Regions from separate parts of the Homo sapiens genome. Here region 2 is linked to region 1. Evidence: promoter capture Hi-C in 16 types of primary human blood cells and fetal thymus (Javierre and others, 2016). All regions are on one chromosome and are shown on one strand. Each heading gives the region's core, a stretch centred on a gene start or on the middle of the fragment in contact. The rest is flanking DNA. Distances are from core to core; before and after follow the strand shown. Region 1 holds the start of OR8D2 (olfactory receptor family 8 subfamily D member 2). Region 2 holds the start of OR8B4 (olfactory receptor family 8 subfamily B member 4).

Region 1 (3,425 bases), core at 275-2,774:
TTTCTAGGTAGTTATGCTTTTTACTTATATTGTCAAAAATCCTTAATTCTCTGGAGTTAAATAAAGTTTTTCCCACTCTCTCCATTTTTATAGAAGTATAGAATCTTATATTACCCATGTACATTTTTAAAATCTCATTAAATGCGACTATCACTCCAGCCTTTAAAAGTCTTTGTGAATCATGCTCTGTCATCCATTAAATCAACTATTTCAAGGCTGAGGATCGTGACTCAGGCTTCTAATTCCAGCACATTGGGAGGCCAAGTTTGGAGGATTACTTGAGGCCAGAAGTTCAAGACCAGCCTGGGCTTTCAAAAGTAATATGTTCAATAAATTGTTTTTAATGTTTATTTGCCCTTCCTCTTCTGTCATCTCCCATTTCTCTAATACATTTTCGAAGATTATATTGACCATCAGAAAATTTTGTTTCATAATCTCCAAAAATGTCTTAATCATTCTCTAATATAAAATATACATTTTTAAGTGATGATAATTTTTCTCTCTCCGAGAGAGACAGAAACTTACAAAGATCCTATAACAACTTTTTATATGGTTTATTTTTTCTGGCTGCCAATGAGAACCCTCTTTGTCAGGATGACTGCCTTCCCCTAGTCATCTTCTTCAGTGCATTTTTCACATCCTTGTTCCTCAGGCTATAGATTAGAGGATTCAGCATGGGGATTATTGTGATGTAGAACACAGAAGACACCTTCTCTTTTTCCATAGTAGTGCTGGAAGGGGGCTTGAAATACATGAATGTTATAGACCCAAAAAAGATGCCCACAGCCAAGAGATGGGAGCTACAAGTGCCAAAGGCTTTGGATTGCCCCTCAGTGGAATGAATACCAAGGATACTAGAGAAAATGAAAGCATAAGAGATAAGGACCGCCAGTGTAGTTGCTAAGGTATTAACTCCTCCAATAATGAACAGCAGAATCTCATTGATGTGGGTGCTGGAGCAAGACAGAGTCAATAAGGGGAGAATATCACAAAAATAATGACTGACCGTATGAGACCTACAGAATGACAACACTGACATGCGGGTAGTATGGACTGTGGCCCACAGAAAACCCAGTGAGTATACCACAGCCATCATTATGGAACAGACCCTGTGGGACATGACAATATTGTAAAGCAGTGGGCGACAGATAGCAACATAACGGTCATATTCCATGGCTGTCAGAAGGTAGCCTTCTGCAATTACAAAAATAAGGAAGAAATAAAGTTGAGTAATGCATTCCAGAAAGGAGATAATGTTCTCCTCTGGAACAAAGTTCACCAGCATCTTAGGGGTAATGACAGAGGAGTAGCAGAGATCAATGAAAGACAAATGACTGAGAAAATAATACACTGGAGGGTAAAGTTGAGAACTGAGAGCAATTAAGAAGATCATGCCCAGGTTCCCCACCACTGTGACCACATATATTCCAAGGAACAGGAGGAAGAGTGGCAGTTGAAGTTCTGGGCGTTGTGTCAAGCCTGCCAGGATAAACTCAGCCCCTGAAGAATGGTTTGAAGTAGCCATGTCTTTTAAGGTATTATGTGTAATAAGAAATAAGAGAAAAGAGAGACATTAGATTTATTTTCTGATTCCCAAAGCAGAATGACATGCCCCATGTTGGTTGCTTCCATTCCTGAGAGCCTCATCTGTCCCATGATTGCCTCTTTTCAGGGACCTCTTACAAGATCAAGGGCAAATATTATGAGTATAACCAAGAACCTTGATTTCACCCAAAACCCTGTTGAATGCTCCTCTTTTAGTAAGAGTCCTCCCATTTTGTTTCCAGGCTTATGCCCATAATTACCTCACTGCTGGAGGAAGCACAAACTTTCCAAATCTAATTAGTTTGTCATTGCTACCATTAAAACAACACTGCTTACCTTCTTTATCTGAGCATATGCCAATAGAACCTTCAGACTTTGTTACAACATGGCTTCTAATCCAGCTCTGATGATATAAAAGTAGTCCATTTCAGTTTCCTTACCCATCAACATGAATCAACATAATTAGCATTTGCTAAAACTAGGAAATAAGAAACATAAAAGACGTCTATAAAGAGACCTTAGTACAAAAAAAAAAAGTATGGAAATGGTTCTAATCAATTCTGACCCTCATTAGCTCACTTCTGTTCTTTGAATGGAAAACTTGAGTGGGCCAGGAGATTCTTGTACTCAGTGTGGATGTGGTTGACAGAAATGTTGTGCCAAGGGCTATCCTGAGATTCTAGTTTAGATCTTTCCTGTTCCAGAAACAGCAAAGAAGCAAAGAAGTAAGGCTGACTTTCAGGTGTAAGACCTGAACCATCAGCAACTCAGCGCTTCCCTCCTTGGCCCTTTCCTGCTATCCATTATTCATGGCCAAACTCTCACTGACCTTTCTCTTTCAAAGCTGTGAGATCTGAACTGGAGATTTCTTATTCCCTGACTTCGTTTCCCCTAAAGTTTAAGCAAAGGATTCAGGGTGTGTTGCTTTCAGCTGAAACACTGTATATTACCTAAGACATCAGGTTTCATAATTTTTTTCCAAAGTGAGAAAAAATGTCAAGGGAGGAAAAACTCCATACATAGAGTGAGATGTTGTTTGCTTTTATTTTGCATAAAAACATATTTTTATGATCACAAACAAAAATTTATAAAAATTTGCTTCTACAGTGTTTTAAGGGTACTCAATATGTATATCGATTTAAAAGCTGACAGGTGGGGTGTTATCTCCAAGAGCACTTGAGAAGACAGCCATGTTTCTGAATTAGGGGAATTAGAGAATACTCTAAGAGAAAGAGAATCAGAGTTACCAGAATGCAACTCTAACAAGCCCTGTTACGGGAAGTTCAGGAATTCTAGATTTTTAGCCTTACTTGGAAAAATATTCTACCAAATGACTGAATTAGCCAAAAAGAGAATTTGTTGAAGAAAAATAGCAGAGAGCTTATTTAGAGAGAGACAGTACACTCTGGAAAGGTGAGACAGAGCTGGCTGCTGAAGGGGAGTGAGCCAGCAGCAGCTTGAGAGTTCTGCACTGGGTTTTTGAGATGATGTCCGACACTTTCTTGAAGTTCCCACCTCTGTCGTGAGCCTCTGCCTTTTCCTTTGTCCAGGTTCCTGCTTCTGCCTTAAGTCCCCTTCTCTTCCCTGCCTAGTTCCCATGCCAGGCTTGTGGAACCCTCCCTTACTATTGGCTGATGTGCATGCATGGACCCTGTGTTGGATATGAATCCTGCCTAACAGCCGCATTGCCACCCAAGGGAGGCTGCTTAATAATAGGTCTAGTGATTGAAGCACATTCTTTCCTATATCCGTAACATTTCTATATTGATATATTCCCAAATTATTTTCATCACAGAACTATCACAAATAATGCCTAGAGTATTTCTTTTAGAAAAGACTATCTCAATAAAGTAGAAAGGTTAAGAATTTAAAATTACGTG
Region 2 (3,127 bases), core at 236-2,735, 100 kb after region 1:
GATCATAGAAAATTCTTGTGTGAGGGCTTCTTTTATGTACATACATGTATATGAAAAGGAGGGTTTATGATCTTCCTGACCAAGCAACCTCCTGAAGAGCTGGATATATAATCATATTAGCACTGGCACCAAGGTATCTACCATTGATCTTTAATAAGTCTGCTTATGTAACTAAAGAGAAAACACTCCTCAACCTTTATACCACCACCTGCCCCTTGTTCCAGCCAGAAACGTTCTTGCTCAGAAAAACCCATTTAGCCTACCAAGAAAAGAATGGAAGGCATGGAGCCTCATCTTACTCATCTCTTGGGCCTAATACAGAGTTCAGTAAACAAAAGGCATTTCATAGACACTAACTTGCAGGCAGTGAGCCAATTTAATTGTTGCAAAATAATATAGTCCTCAAGGAGAGTATAGGAAAGAGATTTCCAATTTTTAAAAGTGGAGAGGAGACCCTCTTTGAGGAAAAATATTAAAATTCCTCCGCCTATAAATAGAAAGACACTTGAGTATCATGCTTACCGAGAATCGGTTGCCAGTGATATGAAGAGACCCATTAGAAGAGCACTCTCTTCAGGGTTTTGCCCAGGGCAAGTTTATCATCCTTATTCCTCAAACTGTAGATCGAAGGGTTAAGCATGGGAACCACATTGGTGTAAAAGACTGAGGCAAATCTGCCATGGTTCATAGAGCCAGGAAAAGATGTTGTTAAGTAGGTGAATGTCCCTGACCCAAAAAACAGAGCAACAGCAATTATGTGGGAGCCCCATGTGCTAAAGGCTTTGGATCTGCCCTCTGCAGAAGGAATACAGAGGATGTTGGAGAGTATCAAAGCGTAAGAGATGACGATGCTTATGCTGGATAGCATGGTGATTACTCCAACAACAATGAAAAATACCAGCTCACTGACATGGGTGCTGGTGCAGGAGAGCTGCAAGAGGGGGAGAACGTCACACAGATAATGGTCAATGACGTTGGAATCACAGAAGGTCAGTCGCAGCATGCTTCCAGTGTGGGCCATGGCCCCAGCAAACCCTACCACATAGGAACCAAACATCAGCAGAAAGCAGACCCTTGGGGACATGGTGACCATGTAGAGCAGGGGGTTGCAGATGGCCACATAGCGATCATAGGCCATTGATACCAACACATAGCACTCAGAATTGACAAAGAAACAGAAGAAAAATAGCTGAGTCATACATCCCACATAAGAGATGATACTTTCTGAAACAAAGTCATTCAGCATTTTGGGGGTAAACACACAGGAATAACAGAGATCTATAAAGGACAAGTTGAAGAGGAAAAAGTACATGGGGGTGTGAAGGCTAGGATTTATCCCAATTAAGGTGATCAAGCCCAAGTTGCCCACCACAGTGAACACATAGATCCCTAAGAATAGAAGGAAAAGAGGGAGCTGGAGCTCTGGCTGTTCTGATAATCCCACAAGGATAAACTCAGTCACTGAGGAGCTGTTTCTCAGAGTCATTCTCTCTTGGCGAGCTGTCTGGGGAAGCAGAGGGCAAAACACAAAGAGTCATGACAGGCACAAGCATGGCTAAGGGAAGAAGACTCTAGTGGACCAGCCAGTGTGCAGATGCCCTCTCTTCCATCCTCCCTCATCTACACACCTCCCCACCCTGAGGTATTAACAACGTGTCTGTGAGAGGATCTCAGCTCTGCTGGGCCGATCATGAATTCAAGCTAGCATCTGTTACCATGGGCAGCAAGAATTCCGTCTCTGCTTGAGAGATGACGAGGGAGACAACACACCTGAATTGGCTGCCCAGGGACTCTCAGAAAGACACCCTGAGAACCAAGAGTACAACCTGGGCCGCTGCCTCAAGAGCTGAGAGACCAGAGCTCTCAAGGTCACCAGGATGCCCTCCCATTCTCTGCCTCCGTCTCCCAACTAGATAGTGGATTTCCATCTGGAGAGAAAGCCAAGAGTGTTACCTGCTGGCTCTTTACATCCCACCCGCCTCCTCGAAGACCCTCCATTCCATCTCACCTCAGGGTCAGTGTTGAGAGCAGAGACGGGATCCATACTTCCCAGAGCCCTTGGTTGTGGGTTTCAAAGAGACCATCAGGAAAGACAGGATTCGGACCTTCACCTTCCTTCTCCCGGGCCCCACTCAGTGCTGGGCCTTACGCCATCTCTTTTTCCATTAGCCAGAAAGAGAAAATGGTGCTGCTTGTGCAGAAAGCACACAGCCTTGCGTATTACCTCTTTTGACTCCCTTGGTGCTGAGAATCAGAGCTTTTACAGACCCCAGGCTCCAAGGTGCTCAAGGAATAGACCATGGTTTCTGTTTGTGGATTTTCCCAGGTGGTCTTGACAACTTCAGGAAAAAAAACTAGGAACTCTCATTTTGACCAGAACCCCAGCTGTCATATCACAGAGGAATTTAAGCTGCTTGACGATCTCAGGGACCTGATTAGACACAGTTTCCCCTGGGAATTTCTCCAAGATCTGTCTCTATAGGGAAGGAATTGCACTGTCTTTGTTTACAGCCTGGATAACGGTGCTTACCTAGCATCTTGGGAGTGGGGGTTCCACTCAAACTTTCCCTCTACTCCAGGGATTTCATGTTATTCAGTGCTGAGTTTGGGGACTCATTTTTTCCTTTCTCATTAACTCTCAGAGCCTAAGCTTGAATTTAAGAGTGAATAGCCCCAACCTAAGCCACCATCTCCAAATCTTCACAGGGAGCTATGAGAGTAGGACCCCTCAGAAAAGGTCAGATCAGATCTACAGAGAGCACCTCAGATAAAAGGCTTCTTGGACCATGCGCTGCTCAGAACAGAAACCACACCACCTCCACCACAAACACCACCTACTCGCAGCTCTAATAAGGGCCGCAGACAGGCCTTTACTATATATGAAGAGATTAAAATATCACAACACATATGCTAGAAAGCACACACACACACACACACACACACACACACACACACACACACCCCTACACAGAGTTACTCTCTAGGCATGCAGGCTTAAGGTATAATGGGAGATGGATGTAAGGGTCTAATCCTGCCATTATTCAGATGACAAAGCTGCTCTCCATATGATCTGCTAGATGAATATTTTAAGAAAAATTCAAAGACATGGGAGCATCTGCATTTGTAA

Evidence for each region. Contacts are between HindIII fragments. The CHiCAGO score rates a contact against its expected background, and 5 or more counts as called.
Region 2: the fragment with the promoter of OR8B4 here is called in contact with the fragment with the promoter of OR8D2 in region 1 in 1 of 17 cell types (neutrophils); the score reaches 5.7 in neutrophils.

What each region holds. Positions count from the first base shown.
Region 1 is chr11:124,318,673-124,322,097 of GRCh38, forward strand. OR8D2 (olfactory receptor family 8 subfamily D member 2) reads right to left here and starts at 1,525. Exons shown (of 1, transcript NM_001002918.1): 1 at 590-1,525. The coding sequence starts at 1,525. The coding sequence ends at 590. All of the region lies in intron 2 of LOC112268069 (a long non-coding RNA gene), which reads left to right. The HindIII fragment of the contact is 6,670 bases long and covers 1-3,425 here.
Region 2 is chr11:124,423,386-124,426,512 of GRCh38, forward strand. It overlaps OR8B4 (olfactory receptor family 8 subfamily B member 4), which reads right to left and starts at 1,486. Exons shown (of 1, transcript NM_001005196.1): 1 at 557-1,486. The coding sequence starts at 1,486. The coding sequence ends at 557. The HindIII fragment of the contact is 2,701 bases long and covers 1-2,648 here.